Linked DNA regions of Homo sapiens: regions 2, 3, 4, 5 and 6 are each linked to region 1. Evidence: promoter capture Hi-C in 16 types of primary human blood cells and fetal thymus (Javierre and others, 2016). All regions are on one chromosome and are shown on one strand. The core of a region is centred on a gene start or on the middle of the fragment in contact, and the rest is flanking DNA. Distances in the headings are between cores, read along the strand shown. Region 1 holds the start of SNX6 (sorting nexin 6). Region 2 overlaps PPP2R3C (protein phosphatase 2 regulatory subunit B''gamma). Region 3 overlaps FAM177A1 (family with sequence similarity 177 member A1). Region 4 overlaps SRP54-AS1 (SRP54 antisense RNA 1). Region 5 overlaps SRP54 (signal recognition particle 54). Region 6 overlaps PPP2R3C (protein phosphatase 2 regulatory subunit B''gamma).

Region 1 (3,076 bases), core at 251-2,750:
TAAAAGTTTTATAAAAGTCATCAGTTCATACTAACTACCTCATCTGTTATTACAAACAGCAATAACATCCCACAATATTTTATCACCTACCAAATATGCACTAACAGATGTCTCTCTCACATTAAAACGGATAAGAAAAAGCAAAAGGGAAAACTGAAGTGCAGGCTGTGAAATGTGAAGGAACCATGGAACCTTGCTGAATGGTAATTATCATATATCAACATTTTCCAAGTGCTCACTTGTACAAGGGACTATAAAGATTACCACCCTTCAGCCAAGGAAAAAGGGGGTGGAGAGTGGGGTGGGAGGGAGGAATCAGAGCCCGGAAGGCTCTTTCTGAAGTAGAATGCAACTAACCTCAGAACACCAAGGGCAGAATGGAGGTTATCAAAGGCCTGGCGGAGTGTGTATGTGGGGGGTGAGTGGGTGGAGCGTCGATGTTGGTCAAAGGGTACATACTTGAAATTTGCTTAGATCTCAAATGTTCTCACACAAAAAAAAATGGTAACTAGGTGAGGTGATGGATATGTCAGGTTGATTTTGGTACTCATTTCACAATGTATTCGTGTATTAAAATATAATGTATACCTTAAGTATATACAATTATCAACAGTATTTGTCAATATACCTCAAAGAAGCTAAGGGGGAATAAAACACCAAGGAAATCCTGCCAAAGACAGGATTTGTTGGATATTAGAAAAAGTAAAGATACCATGGGCTACCTGCACTTTGCATAATCTAGTAGGGCACTGGACAGGAGTTGATTCGGCTACTATAAAAATCCTTGCAAAATGGTAATGTAGACTACACCTGTACTATTTGAGAGAGACAGAAGGGTGGGCGGGAGCAAGTTCGAGATGTCCACACCGGGTGAAAATTGAGGGTGCCGCTGGGAAGGTCCGAGAATGGGTTTTCATGGCCCCAAAGTGTCGAGGGAGGGTGGGGGCGTTCCATCTCCCGCCTCCATTTCCACTTCGCCACCTGCACCCCGCCCCGCGTGGGAGTGGAGGTCCACCAGAAGGCCCGAACAGCGGCGGGGGACAAGAAAGCGGCCGCGGGTCCCCGGGAATCGGAGCCGAGCGGCCCCTAGGGAGGAAGGGCTGCGGGAGGGTGGGGCGCGGTGCAGCGAGGAAACCGAAAGGAGGACTACGGGGAGGGAGTGCCGCGCGGCTGGGGACCCATCCCCGTACCACACCCGGGGACCCAGGATGGGGAAGGAGGGTCCAGGGTCCCGCGAGCGAAAGGAAGGCAGAACTTACTCCGCGGTCCTCTTCTGAGAGGAAGTCCGGGCCGTCGTCCAGGCCTTCCTGTGGGGTCGGCGGGCACGGCGCGCCGGGGAAAAGGATGAGATGGGGGAGACACAAAGGGAGACATTAGTGACAGGCTGGCGCGGTCCCCGCGCCCGCCCCGCGCCCGCTGCCCCCACCGCGCTCCCGGGACTCGGCGCCGCGGAGAACACCCACCATCATGGCTGCTCCGAGGCGAGGGCCGGCGCAGGCGCGCATCTCCCTGCTGCCGGAGGGAGCCGGCGGCCAGGAGCGGGGCGGGGCGGGGCGGAGGCGAAGGGGCGGGGCCTAAGGACGGCCCGCCCCGTCCCCGGCGCTGGTCGCTCGAGTCCGTGAGCGAGGAAGGTTAACAGGGCCTTCTGCCCAAGGTCAAGGCACCGAAGTCGGGAGAGCCTGAAGACCCAGACCTCATGGCTGGGGGCACCTCGCAGCTGGCGGGCTCTGACCAGGGAAGGGCCAAAGGCCACCCAGGGAGCTCTCCAGTTCCCCTGCCCCGAGGGCTCCAGCGAAAAACGATGCAGGCGCCCTCCGGAAGCCATAATACATCATCTGGTCTTTGTATTATGCCACACGATAATTAATCACAATTAATATCATTTTGCCTATGGAAGTTGCTGGAAACAAGGACCTTCACACAGTCGGTAATCAGGGACTATAATCAAGCTTTTACCGCTGGCGAGGTAATAACTACCTCAGAGTTTGGGGCACTAATGGTTGCGAACTATAAAAATGAGCTGTTTTCATTACAAAAATATTCCTTTCCTTTGTTAGAAGAAATTTCCCCACACCTACTCTAACTGTCCAGGTGGTTAGCATCACACGGGATCCACAGGCATTTCAAATAACGGGAGAAAATCATACTTAATCCTAGAATCTACACGTTCCTGAGCTTGCATTCAGTTAAGGAAAGGCATCTTCAGATGTTCAGACCAGAAACCCTTAACCCATTGAAATCCGTACTCTAGGGGCCGGGCGCTGTGGCTCACGTCTCTAATTCCAGCACTTTGGGAGGCCAAGGCGGGCGGATCACCTGAGGTCAGGAGTTTGAGACCATCCTGGCTAACATGGTGAAACCCCGTCTCTACTAAAAATACAAAAATTAGCCGGGCGTGGTGGCGCGTGCCTGTAATCTCAGCTACTTGGGAGGCTGAAGCAAAAGAATCGCTTGAACCTGGAAGGCAGAGGTTGCAGTGAGCCGAGATTGCACCACTGCACTCCAGCCTGGGCAACAGAGCAAGACTCTGTCTCAAAAAAAGAAAGAAATAAATCCTTATCTCCCTTACTCCTCATATCCAACCAAATCCTATGGCTTCTACAATTGATTGTCCTTCATACCTCTTTTTTTTTTTTTTTTGAGACAGAGTCTCGCTCTGTCGCCCAGGCTGGAGTGCAGTGGTGCGATCTCGGCTCACTGTAAGCTCCACCTCCAGGGTTCACGCCATTCTCCTGCCTCAGCCTCCCGAGTAGCTGGGACTACAGGTGTGTGCCACCACACCCGGCTAATTTTTTTGTATTTTTAGTAGGACAGGATTTCACCATGTTAGCCAGGAAGGTCTTGATCTCCTGACCTCATGATCCGCCCGCCTCGACCTCCCAAAGTGCTGGGATTACAGGTGTGAGCCACTGCGCCCAGCCCATACCTCTTTAATTAGTCCAATTTTTCCAGTTCTCACAGCAATTACCATCAACTCTCGTCTACACCTTTGCAATACTCTCCTGACTCCACTATTTTCCATCACTTTATCCTATTTTACACACTGCTGCCAGTTTTCCTCCTAAAACACAGATAT
Region 2 (3,002 bases), core at 246-2,745, 450 kb after region 1:
AAATGTATTCAATGGTTTGTCTTACTTTAAGCCTCTTTCACTCACTTTTTCCTATCTCCTTTTCAGTCCTTTTAAGAATTCCAGTTCCAGCTGGGCACGGTGGCCCACGCCTGTAGTCCCAGCACTTTGGGAGGCCAAGGTGGGCGGATCACTAGGTCAGGAGTCCGAGACCAACCTGGCCAACATGGTGAATTAGTAGAGATGGATTTCTACTAAAAATACAAAAATTAGCCGGGCATGGTAGCAGGTGCTTGTAATCCTAGCTGCTCGGGAGGCTGAGGCAGGAGAGTCACTTGAGCCTGGGAGGCGGAGGTTGCAGTGAATGGAGTTTGCACCATTGTACTCCAGCCTGGGCGACACAGCAAGACTCGTCTCCAAAAAAAAAAAAAAAAACAGAATTCCAGTTCCTTCTGGATCATAGTTCATATTTACCTTCTTCTAATCTTTCAGCATCTCATAAAAACTAAATGTAATGTATAACTGAAGTCTTTATCCTGAATTAACATAAATTCTTTAACAAAAATCCTTAACAAAATGAAGTTTGTTTTTTGGTTTGGGACAGGGTCTTACTGTGTTGCCCAGGCTGGAGTGCAATAGTGCAATCATGGCTCACTCCAGCCTCGACCTCCTGGGCTTAAGCAGTCCTTCCCTGTCAGCCTCCTAAGGATCTGGGACTACAGGCTCACACCACCATGCCCAGCTAATGTTTTTTATTTATTTTTTGTAGAGACTTGGTTTTGCCATGTTGTCCGGGCTTGGAATTAAGTTTTGTAAAATGTAACTCTGGTATTGGTTAATAAAACTAGACAATTTTTTTTTTTTTTTTTTTGAGATGATGGAGTCTCACTCTGTTGCCAGGCTGGAGTGCAGTGGCTCAATCTTGGCTCACTGCAAGCTCCGCCTCCCGGGTTCACGCCATTCTCCTGCCTCAGCCTCCTGAGTAGCTGGGACTACAGGCACCCTCCACCACGCCCAGCTAATTTTTTGTATTTTTAGTAGAGACGGGGTTTCACTGTGTTAGCCAGGATGGTCTCAATCTCCTGAACTCGTGATCCGCCCACCTCAGCCTCCCAAAGTGCTGGGATTACAGGCGTAAGCCACCGTGCCCAGCCAACAAATTTTTTATACCAATGATTTTCATGAAAGTAAAATACTAGTTTGAATACATTTTATTAAAACATCCAATTAAAAGAAAGAACAAGGCTGGGCACGTGGCTCACGTATCACTGTGAATCATGGTGGCTATAGTCCCAGCACTTTGGGAGGCCGAGGCAGGCGGATCACCTGAGGTCAGGAGTTCGAGACCAGCCTGGCCAACATGGCAAGACCCCCATCTCTACTAAAAATACAAAAATTAGCCAGGCATGGTGGTGCACACCTGAAGTCCCAGCTGCTTAGGAGGCTGAGGCAGGAGAATCGCTTGAAGCTAGGAGGTGGAGGCTGCAGTGAGCAGAGATCATGCCACTGCACTCCAGCCTGGGCAACAGACGGAGACTGTCTCAAGAGAAAAAAAAAAAAAACCGCAAAACAAAAAGGCTGGGCGTGGTGCCTCACACCTGTAATCCCAGTACTTTGGGAGGCCGAGGCGGGCAGATGACTTGAGGTCAGGAGTTTGAGACCAGCCTGGCCAACATGGTGAAACCCTGTCTCTGCTAAAATACAAAAATTAGCCAGGTGTGTTGGCAGGCGCCTATAATCCCAGCTACTCAGGAGGCCGAGGCAGGAGAATCACTTGACCCCCCCTAAAAAAAAATCCTAATCCTAACCCAGAAATAAAATGGCTCTACTCATGAATGGGAAAGTTTGTCATCTTTGAGATTTTATATATATAGACACACACACACACACATGTTGTGTGTATATATATATGCACTGTCAGTCAAATATTCACATTCTAAATGACTGTCAGAAATATTCCATGGAAACTTCATCTCTGAAGATTATACAGATTTAAACTGAACATCATCTACCTACAGCAAATCACACTTCCCATCTTTGAACTAAAAGGAACCAGAACTTACCCCACCTCCTAACAAGCAATATTTGGTCCTATTGCTTCTAAACTATTGCAACCAAAATTCCAGTAACCAAAACATTTGCTGTGTTCTCTAGGCATATCAAGTGTTTTATTTAGACCATTTCTGAGGATTTTGCTTTAAAGGCTTTACATGCAGCATTCAAGTATCTCATAATATAAGACAGTCTAGTCTTTCAGAGATCATGTATCATCAAGGTCTGCAGAGTTTTCACTGTCATTTGCAACAAGAGCCTCTCTGTTCTCGTAAGTCCAGAAGCCATTCAAATCGATTAGAATGGTGGTTACTGTGTCTCCTTGATTACTGTTGATTAAATCCTGAAGAGAGATTTTCAAAGGATCCTTTGGTTTTACCATGTCAAAGATTTCATCCTGCAAGAGAAAAAAAAATACAATGAAATTTGATCCACTTAATTTCTATCACACATAGTGATCCAAAATTCAGGGCTGTTTGCATCCACTGAAGTACAGAGGAATAAAATTGAGGGCTGCCACTTGGGCTTATGTTAATTTTTTGTTCTACTTTTTTTCTTTTCCATTTAACAGGCAGTTTCCTTTTCTCTACCTACAACCACAAAATTTTATTGGATAACTCCTTAGCTATGTGATAGCTATCCTTCGTTTTATAGATGAAGAAACCAAGGCTCAGTGCCTAATCTAGCTACATAGGTAATTAGTGGCAGAACTATCTAATGCAGTGTTCAGGGACTGCACGTTAACTAGTTTCTTATATATTTTTCTGTTGCCTTCTAATTGGTGAAACAAAGTTTTGTCTGTAGTTTTTGTTTTTGTTGTTTTGTTTTGTTTTTGAGATGGAGTCTCACTCTGTCATCCAGGCTGGAGTGCAGTAGTGCGATCTTGGCTTACTGCAACCTCCGCCTCCTGGGTTCAAGCGATTCTTCTGCCTCAGCCTCCCGAGTAGGTGGGACTACAGGTGCACGCCACCACACCCAGCTAATTTTTGTAT
Region 3 (3,353 bases), core at 4-2,503, 440 kb after region 1:
ATTTTTCTCTGATAAGATAAGCACATCTTAAATGCCATTTAGGGAAGTTGCCAACTGAGTATTTGATTACTTTTTGAATCCTTTTATATAGACAGAATGGTGCTCAGGCAGAATATTCTTTAAATAAAAATGTGTTACCTGCTATGCATTTCCTTCAACTTCCACCAGCAATAGATGGCTGTTAATTTTGTTTTTCATTAATGTAGACTTTGTTTTAAAAGGTATAAGAAGCAATTTTTTTTTTTTTTTTTGAGACAGTCACCCTGTCGCTCAGGCTGGAGTGCAGTGGTACGACCTCGGCTCACTGCAACCTCCACCTCCCAGGGTCAAATGATTCTCCTGTCTCAGCTTCCCGAGTAGCTGGGATTACAGGTACCTGCCACCATGCCCAGCTAATTTTTGTGTTTTTAGTAGAGACAGGATTTCACCATCTTGGCCAGACTGGTCAACAGGAGTTGGCCAGACTCCTGACCTCGTAATCCACCCACCTTGGCCTCCCAAAGTGCTGAGATTACAGGTGTGAGCCACTGCACCCTGCCTAGAAACAAAGTATTAAAGCCATTGTCTGATAATATGAAAATCGTAGGAATTCTAATCCTTTTTTTTAAATTTTTTTCTTTTTGAGACAAGGTCTTCCTCTGTTGCCCAGGCTGTAGTAAAGTGGCATGATGATGGCTCACTGTAGCCTTGACCTCCTGGGCTCAAACGATCTTTCCACCTCAGCCTCCTAAGTAGCTGGGACTACAGATATAGGCCACCACACCTGTCTAATTTTTAAAATTTTTTGTAGAGATAAGGTCTCATTATGTTGCCCAGGCTGGTCTTGGACTCCTCGGCTCAAATGATCCTCCTATTTTGGCCTCCCAAAGTGCTGGGATTACAAGCATGAGTTCCTGGCCTCAAATCCATTTTTCTTGTGTTGTTTAAAGTAGTAAAAGAGCATCTTTTTTTTTTTTTTTTTGAGACAGAGTGTCACTCTGTTGCCCAGGCTGGAGTGCAGTGGCGTAATCTCGGCTCACTGCAACCTCTGCCCTTGGGATCAAGCAATTCTCCTGCCTCAGTCTCCCTTGTAGCTGGGATTACAGGTGTGCGCTACCACTCCTGGCTAATTTTTGTATTTTTAGTAGAGACGAGGTTTCACCATGATGGCTAGGCTGGTCTCAAACTCCTGACCTCAAGTGATCTGCCCGCCTCAGCCTCCCAAAGTGCTGGGATTACAGGCGTGAGCCACCGCGCCTGGCCATAAAAGAGCATCTTGATGCCAACTTGATGTATATATTTAAATGCCATTGTTATAGTTAATGGAATGTATACATAATAGAGGCTTTTGAATCTTGAATCTTTTTTTTTTGAGACGGAGTTTTGCTCTTGCCCAAGCTGGAGCGCAATGGCACAATCTCAGCTCACCGCAACCTCTGCCTCCTGGGTTAAAGCGATTCTCCTATCTCAGCCTCCCTTGTAGCTGGGATTACAGGCATGCGCCACCACGCCTGGCTAATTATGTATTTTTATAGGGACGGGGTTTCTCCATGTTGGTCAGGCTAGTCTCAAACTCCCAACCTCAGGTGATCTGCCCACCCTGGCCTCCCGAAGTTCTGGGATTACAGGTGTGAGCTACCATGCCCAGCCCAATTTTCTGTTTTTATTAAACATATTTATTGCCTCAAGTACTTACCATTTATTCTTCCTAACTGTAACATTGAGCTCTTTGACCAACATCTCCCCATTTCCCCTTAACCCCCAGCCTCTGGTAACCACCATTGTGCTCTCTGTTTCTATGAGTTCAGTTTTGGATTCCACATAAAAGTGAAAACGTGGCATTATGCCTTTCTGTGCCTGGGTTATTTCAGTAGCATAATGTCCTCCAGGTTCATCCACGTTGCACAAATGACAGAATTCCCTATTTTTAAAGGCTGAATTGTATTTCATTTTGTATATATGTCACATTTTCTTTATCCATTCATCTGATATGGACACCTAGGTTGGTTCCATAATGTGGCCATTGTGAATAATGATGTAATAAACATGGGAGTGCAGATATCTCTTTGATATACTGATTCCAGTTCCTTTCAATATATATTCAGAAATTGAATTGCTGGATTATATAGTAATTCTGTTTTTAATTTTTTGAGGAACCTCCATCCTGTTTTCCAAAATGGCTGTACTGATTTGCATTCCCACCAAGTGCACCTGGGTTCCCTTTTCTCTACATCCTTGCCAACATTTGTTATCTTTTATCTTTTTGATAATATCCATTTTGACAGGTATGTGGTGATATCTCATTGTGATTTTAATTTGCCTTTCCTTAATGATTAGTGATGTTGAACATTTTTTCATATATCTGTTGACTATTCATATGCCTTCTCTTGAGAAGTATCTGTTCAGGTCCTTAGCCTAGTTTTTAATTAGGTTGTTTTTTTGCTTTTGAGTTGTTTAAGTTCTTTACATATTTTGGATATTAACCCCTTATCAAATGTATGGCTTGCAAGTATTTTCTCCCAATCCATGGGTTGTCACTTCACTGTGTTGATTGTTTCTTTTACTGTGCAGAAGCTTTTTATTTTGATGTAATCCCATTAGTCTGGTTTTGGTTTTGTTGCCTGAGCTTTTGGGGTCAAATCCAAAAAAGTATTGCCCAGACCAATGTTATGTAGTTTTCCCTTATGTTTTCTTCTAGTAGTTTTACATGGATAATTTTTCCAATATGTATTTCAGAATCTCCATCGGTGGCAGTAAATAGGTTTTTTATTGTGTAAGTAGAAAATCTTTTACATGGTGGAGTATGTTAACAGATGATTGGTATCTTAATGTTAGAGCATTTTGATAGCAGGTAACCATAAAACTACTTCTAATCACCATATCCTTTCTTGTGTTTGTGGACTAGGCATCATGTGAAGTTTCTGTTTGCTCCTGTAGATTTACTCTCTACTCGTCTGCATGCTGCATTGTACTTTGGCATGTATGCACTGTATTAGTAGAGTCCTTTGTCCTCTGGCTTTTTATTGAGTTTAGCCAATGTGAACCACCGGCAGGAAATTAGAGGGCAGGGAATAAAATGAGGTTGTGTTATTTACTCTTCACCATTCTGATTCTGGGATTCCTTCCTTATTATATGCCATGGGTAACTGGATTTTCTACTAAGGCCACAGCTACTATTGGGAAGCCTTCTCCATTTGGGTATTCTCCCGGGGTTCCCAGTAACTGCTCTCTCTTTTTACCCCTTCAGATATTGGGTTTGTGATAGCCCATTTTGTGCTGCTATAATGGAATACCACAGACTGGGTAATTAATAAAGAACAGAACTTCATTGGCTTACAGTTGTGGAGGCTGGGAAGTCCAAGATTGAGCAACTG
Region 4 (2,959 bases), core at 41-2,540, 300 kb after region 1:
CTTTGATTTGAGTATATGTGTGATGAGGGTTAATCCTTTCCTGTTTTAATGTGTATGATACGAAGTGTATCTGCCTCAATTTTTATTTATTTATTTTTTGAGACAGAGTCTTGCTCTGTCGTCCAGGCTGGAATGCAGTGGTGCAATCTCGGCTCACTGCAATCTCCGCCCTTGGTTCAAGTGATTCTCCTGCCTCAGCCTCCTGAGTAGCAGGGATTACAGGTGTGTGCCACCATGCCAGGCTAATTTTTGTATTTTTAGTAGAGATAGGGTTTTGTCATGTTGGCCAGGCTCGTCTCAAACTCCTGACCTCAGGTGATCCGCCCACCTTGGCCTCCCAAAGTGCTGGGATTATAGGGGTGAGCTACCATGCCTGGCCCTGTCTCAAATTTTAGTGCAGTGCAATCTATCACTAAGAAATTTCAGGCCGGGCGCGGTGGCTCACGCCTGTAATCCCAGCACTTTGGGAGGCCGAGGCGGGCGGATCACGAGGTCAGGAGATCGAGACCATCCTGGCTAACACGGTGAAACCCCACCTCTACTAAAAATACAAAAAATTAGCTGGGCGTGGTGGCGGGCGCCTGTAGTCCCAGCTACTGGGGAGGCTGAGGCAGGAGAATGGCGTGAACCCGGGAGGTGGAGCTTGCAGTGAGCCCAGATCGCGCCACTGCACTCCAGCCTGGGTGACAGCGAGACTCCGTCTCAAAAAAAAAAAAAAAAAAAAAAAAAAAAAAAAAGAAATTTCAAAGCTGTTATTTAAGATGTTAATTATATAATATACAAATATCACGGTTGTGTGGTTTAACCTGTTAAGACATGCTTAGAAAAGAGAACGTGAGTATACTGACTTTATTACAAGCCTATATTGGAAGATATATGGTAATACATAGGTATGTATAACTCCCTGATAACAATAGGTTATGCATTATTTAAAAACATAATGTCAAACAGCATTACAGTTGGTAATTTATTTAAAGACTACAAGCTTGCTTGTCTGTTCACTACTGCATTTCTATCCTGAACATTTCTGGATATATTACTATATATCAGGTTTATATACTTTTACTATAGGTATATAAATATTTGCTGAATGAATAAAATAGGAAGATAATTTTAAAAGGTAAAAAATGGCATTTAATTTATAAAACATAATAAACAAAAGTTCTAAATCGTATTAAGTTCTAAAACAAACCAGATTTGTCAACATAATTCCAAGTTTAATTCCAAACTTAAAAATGGTAGCATGTAATATCAGTTCACTGAATATTGTAATTAGATATTAAAAGTTCAGATATGAGTAGTAAAGGCAGAGTGGGACTTGTAATACCAGGGTCAAAGGTAGTGCTTGGGGTCTGACTAAATATTTGAAAAAGGACATCAACCTGTGTGGGCAGGTGTTTATGAAGGATGAGAAAGAAGGCAACTTCTTTTTTTCTCTGGTTCTGTGGGCTTCTCTTTAACTTTTGTTTTTTCACTCTTTATCATCCAAAACTAAAGGATTCATGAACTTTGAAGGATCTGAGCAATCGATCTTTGTAAATAGGTAACTTGACACAGTCTTAGGGGAATTAATGATAGTGTATGATAGACTTAATGGAAGCTTAGAAAACACTCTTTTTTTGGTTAACTACCATAGGCACTCTATTTATTTATTTATTTACTAAAGGCTAGCCAAGTGAAGCAGTGGGAGTAGAGAAAGAACAAAGAAATCTGGAACTGGTTGTGATTAATTAGTCATAAACCACTGCACTCGGACCAGCCCATATGCACTCTTTAAAACTTAAAACTTTTTACCAAAATCTTAAATATCAGAACAAGTCAGAAAGCTTGTTTTTTTTAAACCTTGTTTTTATTATGAAATGTATTACACATAACAAAAACTTCATAAAACATATATATAGATTTAAAAAATAATAAAGAAACATTTATGTACTCACCAGCTTAAGAATAATTTTTTGGGTGGGCACAGGGGCTCATGCCTGTAATCTCAGCACTTTGGGAGGCTGAGACTGGAGGATCACTTGAGCCCTGGAGTTTGAGACCAGCCCAGGCAACAGAGACCCCATCTTCACAAAAAATAAAAAATTAGGCTGGGCATGGTGGCTCACGCCTGTAATCCCAGCTCTTTGGGAGGCTGCGGTGGGTGGATCACAAGGTCAAGAGATAGAGGCCAACATGGCGAAACGCTGTCTCTGCTAAAAATACAAAAATTAGCTGGGCGTGGTGGTGTGTACCTGTAATTCCAGCTACTCAGGAGGCTGAGGTAGGAGAATCACTTGAACTCAGGAGGCAGAGGTTGCAGGGAGCTAAGATCGTGTCACTAAACTCCAGCCAGGTGACAGAGTGAGACTGTCTCAAAAAAAAAAAAAAAAAAGAAAGAAAAAGAAAAAGAAAATTAGCCAAGTGTGGTGGCTCACACCTGTAATCCTAGCACTTTGGGAGGCTGGGGTGGGCAAACTGCTCGAGCCCAGGAGTTTGAGACCAGCCTGGGCAACTTCGTGAAACTCTGTTTCTACAAAAAAAATTTAAAAATTAGCTGGGCGGCCGGGCGCCGTGGCTCACATCTGTAATCCCAGCACTTTGGGAGGCCGAGGCAGGTGGATCACGAGGTCAGGAGATCGAGACCATCCTGGCTAACACGGTGAAACCCCGTCTCTACTAAATATACAAAAATTAGCTGGGCGTAGTGGCAGGCGCCTGTATTCCCAGCTACTCGGGAGGCTGAGGCAGGAGAATGGCGTGAGCCCAGCGGGTGGAGCTTGCAGTGAACCGAGATGGAGCCACTGTACTCCACTCTGGGCGACAGAGCGACACTCCGTCTCAAAAAAAAAAAAAAAAAAAAAAATTAGCTGGGCATCGTGGTGTGCACCTGCAGTCCCAGCTATTCCGGAGGCTGAGGCTGCAGTGAGACATGATTGTGCCGCTGCACTCCAGCCTGGGCAATAGAGTAAGACCCTCT
Region 5 (3,166 bases), core at 480-2,979, 390 kb after region 1:
CCTGAGCTCCAGGTTTTCATAGTAGCCCAAATAAGACTGTCTTTTTCTTTTAAGGTTGTTTTTTTTCCTCACTGTCTTTAACACTGCAAAAATGTTTGCATGTAGAATTCATAATTGCAGCATATCTAAAGTATCCATTCTGTGCCAGGCACTGTCCTGAGCACTTTAAATATATTAATTCATTTTATCATCATAACAACTCCTATGGCATATTCAGTTATTATCTGCCTTTTTCAAATTAGGAAACTGGGATACAGGGAAGTTGAGTAATTTGCCCAGTATAGAACCTTTCCTGACTTCCTTCCTTCTTTGAATTAACGCCCCTTCCTCTATTTGCTTAACTCTGTCGTATTACTTGCCACGATGTGCTGCTATTAGTTTATCTTCTTTCATTTGATTTGAGCTGTTGGAAGGAATATAATATATATGTTTCATAAATCTTTTATAAGGAAGATGTGGCTTAAAAGCTGCATTTATGAAATGGATTTGGAGGTTTTGATCGTGACTTTATTTTGAGATATTGTATCTTTGTTAGTATTGCATTGATAATTAGACTTCACCTGGATTTCAGTTCACTTCTGGACAATATACTTAGAGGGTATGTATAGACAAATTAAAAGATGTAGGAAATCAGGATGATAAATGGGGTTCTAAACCATGTTAGAAGAGTCAGAGGTGGATATTTGTCATCCAGCGAAAATTCACAGGAGACATGGTAGCTCTTATGCATTTGAAAGCTGGCCAGGTGCGGTGGCTCTCAACTGTAATCCCAGCATTTTGGGAGGCTGAGGTCGGTGGATCACTTGAGGTCAGGAGTTCGAGACCAGCCTGGGCAACATGGTGAAACCCTGTCTTTACTAAAAGTACAAAAAAAATTAGCTGGCTGTGGTGGCGTGTGCCTATAGTTCCAGCTACTCAGGAGCCTGAGGTGGGAGAATCGCTTGAACCCTGGAGGTGGTGGTTGCAGTGAGCGAAGCTTGCACCACTGCACTCCAGCCTGAGGGACAGAGCAACACTCTGTCTCAAAAAAAAAAAAGATTTTGAAAGCCTTATTTTTTATGCGTAGCAAGGAGACATATACATGAATAGGAATGGAAGTGCCACGTAAATGGATTTCAATTTAATATGTGTAAAGAAAAGATTTTTCCCTAAGTATAACAGAATGGCATAGACAGCCTTACATTAGATAGCAGGTCATCTCTCCTGGGGATATTAAGACCAAGGCTAGATAACCATTTATTTGGGGGATATTGCAGAGGGAATGCAGACATAATGGACATTTTGACTAAAGTCCATCCCATTCCTGAGATTGCATGCAACTGAAGCTAGAAGAAATGCACCTGATATTCTAAGAGTGATCAAACAACTGCGGGAATTAATTCACTATATGCTACTGAGAGAATTAAAATACTAGTAGTAGTAATTACTTGATTATAGGAAATAATTTTTCTGTTGATTATGGATAGAACGTACCTCTTTCTGCTTGCTTATATAGTCTACATTATGAATTTATGATTAATATTTAGGGTAGAGCTAAAGTGAGCATTTGTGTTCATTTTTTAAATATACCATATACCTCTGATGTTTGGAGGGCCTGGAGAGGGTAGACATATGAAGTATGGAAATGTTGGACATGGGGTCTCGAAACATTCTATTAATAGTTTACTTAAACTGTAGGGAAAGTACATGTTTGTTTCATTGTTTTTATAGCTTATGAATACTATAAATGTTCTTTTGAATATATTCCGTATTTTCTTTTTTTTTTTGAGATGGAGTCTCGCTCTGTCGCCCAGGCTGGAGTGCAATGGCGCAATCTTGGCTCACTGCAACCTCTGCCTCCCAGGTTCAAGCGATTCTTCTGCCTCAGCCTCCCGAGTAGCTGGGACTACAGGCACATGCCACCATGCCCAGCTAATTTTTGTATTATTAGTAAAGACAGGGTTTCACCATATTGGCCAGGCTGGTGTCGAACTCCTGACCTCATGAGCTGCCTGCCTCGGCCTCACAAAGTGTTGTGATTACAGGCATGAGCCACCACGCCTGGCCTCCATGTTTAATTTTTAAAACTCAAAAGCAAACATAGCGAATGTTAACATTTGTTAAATCTGGGTGGTAGTTTGACTATGTATTATGTCTGTTTTTCTGTATGTAAGATATTTTGTAATATAAAAAGAAAAATGAGATAGTTATCACTTTAAAAACATCTGCTAAGCTCTTTGAAGTTATATATTGCCCATTTGCACATAACTGCTTTGATGGTGAATGATAATTGTGTGTGAGAGTAACTGACCTTGTCTACAGAACTAGACAGTACGGATGGTGCCAAAGTTTTTAGTAAACAACCAGGAAGAATCCAAAGAGTAGCAAGAGGATCGGGTGTATCAACAAGAGATGTTCAAGAACTTTTGACACAATATACCAAGTTTGCACAGATGGTAAAAAAGATGGGAGGTATCAAAGGACTTTTCAAAGGTAAGAAAAATAAGCTTGTTATTAGTTAACAGACGGAAAAGAAAGGAAGTTGAGAAAAAAGAGTGCTGCCAGTATTGGAAAATTCACAGCTGAATTTCATGTTATTTTCAAGTACTTCCAGGATTTATGTGACCTGTGATTTATCTGTTTTCATATTCAAGGTAATATTAATATTTAAAAAAAAACTTTACATCTGTGTAGTGTGGGTAAATGAAAAAAAATTAATAAAGCAATGATTTTCTTTTTGTGAACACATTATATTAAATTTAGATAATATAAGGAAAAAAAAAACACATTACCTTTACTCCCCAGAGAATCCAGTGGATCCTACTGCAAATAACAGTTGCTATAACTAAGTTTTCTTCTGATATATCATAACTGTTTTTCCATGTTGTCAAATATTCTTCAAAACATAATTCTTGGCCAGGCACGATGGCTCATGCCTGTCATCCTAGCACTTTGGGAGGCTGAGGCGGGCGGATCACTTGAGGTCAGGAGTTCAAGACCAGCCTGGCCAGCATGGTGAAACCCTGCCTCTACTTAAAATACAAAAAATATCCGGGTGTCGTGGGGTGTACCTGTTATCCCAGCTACTCGGGAGGCTGAGGCAGGAGAATCACTTGAACCCAGGAGGCGGAGCTTGCAGTGAGCCGAGATTGTACCACTGTACTCCAGCCTGGGCAGCAGAGTGAGA
Region 6 (3,081 bases), core at 172-2,671, 470 kb after region 1:
CTCCTGACCTCGCGATCTGCCTGCCTTGGCCTCCCAAAGTGCTGGGATTACAGGCGTGAGCCACCATGCCCAGCCAAATATACTCCTTTTAATGACATAAATCTTTGCAAAGCTAGGTTTTGATGGTTCCTGTGGTAAAGTACCACACAAAAATTAGTGAACAGGAAATGAGGAGGGCAAGTGTCCAGTCTAATTCCCAGGTTTAAGTAGTTGTACACATCCCATTAATAACTGTACTTAAGAATGAAATAAAAATATCTTCTTTCAACTTAAGTGTATTATTTATTCAAATGGCTAATAAGCTTAATGAATACTCATTAAATTGTTTAAAATTAACTAGTTAATAAGTGAAACTTTTAGGGATTTCTTTTGGCTCAGAAGCACTGTGAAAAAATTACTCAAACACTAAAGGTGTCAATTCAAACTTTCTGATCTTTGCTAATTTGATAGGGGAAAAATGGCAACTTAGTGTAGATTTATCTGGCATTTCTCTTATGTGAAGTTAGTTGTTTCTTATGATTAAGAAGCATTTGAATTTTACTTTTTATACATTATCTATATCTTTGTCCAGTTTTTTATTGGGTTAATGGCTTTCTTCTTGATTTCTGGGAGCTTTTTATATATTAGGGTAATTGGCCATTTCTGACTGTTTCAGGTATTTCCCCCAGTTTGTTGTTTTCTTTTTACTTTAACATGGGCTTTGCCCTATAGATCTTTAAAAATTTAGCTGAATTTATTGTTTTCTAGACTTCTGGGTTTTGTCATACTTAGAAAGGCTTTCCCTATTACAGGATTATAAATTTAAAAGCCTTCCATGGTTTCTCTCTCTCTTTTTTTTTTTTTTTTTGAGACGGAGTCTCAGTCCAGTCCAGGCTGGAGTGCAGTGGCGCAATCTCAGCTCACTGAAACCTCCACCTCTTGGGTTCAAGCGATTCTTGTGTCTCAGCCTGAGTAGCCAGGATTACAGGCACGTACCACCACGCCTGGCTAATTTTTGTATTTTTAGTAGAGAGGGGGTTTCGCCATGTTGGCCAGGCTGGTCTCGAACTCCTGACCTCAAGTGATCTGCCTGCCTTGGCCTCCCAAAGTGCTGGAATTACAGGCGTGAGCCACTGTGCCTTCCCATGGTTTCTTATACTTATTTTAACAATGTTATTTTTGCTTTAACCATTTCAAATATCAAATTTCTGGTAGATCTGAGATACTTTCAAGTTTATAGGACAACTGGCATCTCAAACTTGAAGTATCCAAAATGGGGCTCTCTTGTCATCTCCAACCTTGGTCCTCACCTGCTTTTCCTCTATTCCAACAGTTACTCAAAATAAAAATTTAAGACTTGTCTTTGGCTTCTCTTTTTCTTCATCAATGCCTTCACACTCCTTACCCTGAACATCCAATCTAGCAGCAATTTGTGTTTTTTCTGGGAAGGAGGGGAGTCCAAAATATATATTGAATTAATCTATTTCTTGCTTTCTCTACAGCCACCAATTACCCTAGTTATGGGCCCATCATCTCACCTGGACTATCATGGTAGGTGCCTAAATATTTTGCTTATACTCCAGATTTATTTATCTATTTAGAGATGGAGCCTTGCTCTGTCGCCCAAGCTGGAGTGCAGTGGCTCAATCTTGGCTCACTGCAACCTCCATCCCCTGGGTTCAAGTGATTCTCCTGCCTCAGCCTCCAAGTAGCTGGGATTACAGGTGCCTACCCCCATACCCAGCTAATTTTTGTATTTTTAGTGGAGACGGGGTTTCGTCATGTTGGCCAGGCTGGTCTTGAACTCCCGAGCTCAAGCGATCCACCTGCCTCGGCCTCCCAAAGTTGCTGGGATTACGGGCATGAGCCACCGTGCCTGGCCGTACTTTGAGTTCCTTACATCCTCCATACAGCATCCAGAATGATCTTTTAAAATGTAAATCATATCCTGACAGACTCAGCTTAAAACTTCCGATGGTTTCCCGTTAGCCTCAAAATAAATCCAAAGTCCTTACTGTGGCCCAAAAGGCCCTACATGTGGCCCCTGCCTACTTCTCCAACTTCATTTTCTGTTACTATAGTCCTTGTTCTAGCCACACTGGCTTCCTTCTGTTCCTAGAACAGGTCCAGGCTTAATTTTGCCTTGGAGACACTGTATTTGCCGTTTCCTCTATACTACATCTTCATAAGGCTGGCTTCTTTCTCGTACTTCATGGCTAAAACTTAATCACTATCTCAAAAAGATGCTCCTTCCAGCCTACCTAAAATCGTCTGTCAATCCCAGTCATATTCCTGCCTAGTTTACTGTTTTATTTTCTACATATAACTTGTCACTATTTGATATTATCTGCTTATAATTTAGTGTCTGTCTTCCCACTCTGCTAGAAAAAATAGGTCTACAAGGGAATGAAAATTGTACTGTGTCCCTGGAAAGGTTTTAAAGTATAACATTTAGAATGAGCTAACAGATTCCATCTACAGAAATCTGGGCAAGAAAACAAAAAAAAGAAAAAAAAGAAATCTGGGCAAACAGATTGTCACAAAGTAAAACATGAGCCCTACAAGCTTAGAATAATACCTGCCCCCAAATAAATGTCTACTAAATGCTTAATAAGATTTAATAAGTGAATAAAACTTTGTATACTCTACTCAGATTATAAATGTTGGTCTGGAAGCCACTGCCTTTCAAATTAGTAAGACACAAAGTCTGGGTTTCAAAAGGCAATGGGCCAAGGATGGAAGAAATACTTTGAGAAAAGTGTTTTCTTTCATTGAGAGAAGGGGAAAATTATTCCTTTTTAAAAACAACTATAGAAGTACACTGTTTCTTTTCTCTCCCTTTTGCTCATCTCTCTTTCAATCTTTGTTTCCATCCATGGAAAGAGGCAAGACAAGCAGTAACAGGGGACTGTTTTTATAAATCAATATTGCTGTTTTTATAAATCAAGTGAACTGCTAACAAGAATTCTCAGAGCTAGAGAAGTACTCCAGTTTTGGACCTGACCTCTAAACGAGTACCAGCAGGTGGCTAATTATGTCTTCCTTGCCAGAAGCAAGAGCCTTTTATTCTCAAGTTGGTCTGAACCTTAAAGAGAACTGTAG

Evidence for each region. Contacts are between HindIII fragments. The CHiCAGO score rates a contact against its expected background, and 5 or more counts as called.
Region 2: a fragment that was not itself captured here is called in contact with the fragment with the promoter of SNX6 in region 1 in 1 of 17 cell types (neutrophils); the score reaches 6.5 in neutrophils.
Region 3: a fragment that was not itself captured here is called in contact with the fragment with the promoter of SNX6 in region 1 in 5 of 17 cell types (neutrophils, total CD4 T cells, naive CD8 T cells and 2 more); the score reaches 8.4 in neutrophils.
Region 4: a fragment that was not itself captured here is called in contact with the fragment with the promoter of SNX6 in region 1 in 4 of 17 cell types (naive CD4 T cells, non-activated CD4 T cells, total CD8 T cells and 1 more); the score reaches 8.1 in naive CD4 T cells.
Region 5: a fragment that was not itself captured here is called in contact with the fragment with the promoter of SNX6 in region 1 in 1 of 17 cell types (neutrophils); the score reaches 5.8 in neutrophils.
Region 6: a contact is called between a fragment that was not itself captured here and the fragment with the promoter of SNX6 in region 1, in 2 of 17 cell types (neutrophils and total CD8 T cells). The highest score is 10.4, in neutrophils.

What each region holds. Positions count from the first base shown.
Region 1 is chr14:34,628,648-34,631,723 of GRCh38, forward strand. SNX6 (sorting nexin 6) reads right to left here and starts at 1,501. Exons shown (of 14, transcript NM_152233.4): 1 at 1,464-1,501; 2 at 1,260-1,307. The coding sequence starts at 1,469. RefSeq lists a silencer at 1,255-1,604 and an enhancer at 1,775-1,824. The HindIII fragment of the contact is 3,459 bases long and covers 1-1,947 here.
Region 2 is chr14:35,083,372-35,086,373 of GRCh38, forward strand. It overlaps PPP2R3C (protein phosphatase 2 regulatory subunit B''gamma), which reads right to left. Exons shown (of 13, transcript NM_017917.4): 13 at 2,101-2,407. The coding sequence ends at 2,219. All of the region lies in intron 1 of LOC101927178 (a long non-coding RNA gene), which reads left to right. FAM177A1 (family with sequence similarity 177 member A1) reads left to right here. Exons shown (of 5, transcript NM_173607.5): 5 at 1-7. Among named protein-coding and RNA genes, the nearest start is that of PRORP-PSMA6, 37 kb to the right of the region's middle. The HindIII fragment of the contact is 4,348 bases long and covers 1-3,002 here.
Region 3 is chr14:35,065,463-35,068,815 of GRCh38, forward strand. All of the region lies in intron 2 of FAM177A1 (family with sequence similarity 177 member A1), which reads left to right. Among named protein-coding and RNA genes, the nearest start is that of FAM177A1, 21 kb to the left of the region's middle. The HindIII fragment of the contact is 2,595 bases long and covers 1-2,551 here.
Region 4 is chr14:34,931,783-34,934,741 of GRCh38, forward strand. All of the region lies in intron 2 of SRP54-AS1 (SRP54 antisense RNA 1), which reads right to left. Among named protein-coding and RNA genes, the nearest start is that of SRP54-AS1, 49 kb to the right of the region's middle. The HindIII fragment of the contact is 615 bases long and covers 984-1,598 here.
Region 5 is chr14:35,020,609-35,023,774 of GRCh38, forward strand. It overlaps SRP54 (signal recognition particle 54), which reads left to right. Exons shown (of 16, transcript NM_003136.4): 14 at 2,302-2,472. Among named protein-coding and RNA genes, the nearest start is that of FAM177A1, 24 kb to the right of the region's middle. The HindIII fragment of the contact is 1,510 bases long and covers 975-2,484 here.
Region 6 is chr14:35,101,200-35,104,280 of GRCh38, forward strand. The region is part of intron 6 of PPP2R3C (protein phosphatase 2 regulatory subunit B''gamma); the gene reads right to left. LOC101927178 (a long non-coding RNA gene) reads left to right here. Exons shown (of 5, transcript NR_110415.1): 3 at 1,482-1,530. Among named protein-coding and RNA genes, the nearest start is that of PRORP-PSMA6, 19 kb to the right of the region's middle. RefSeq lists a silencer at 1,530-1,697. The HindIII fragment of the contact is 2,242 bases long and covers 301-2,542 here.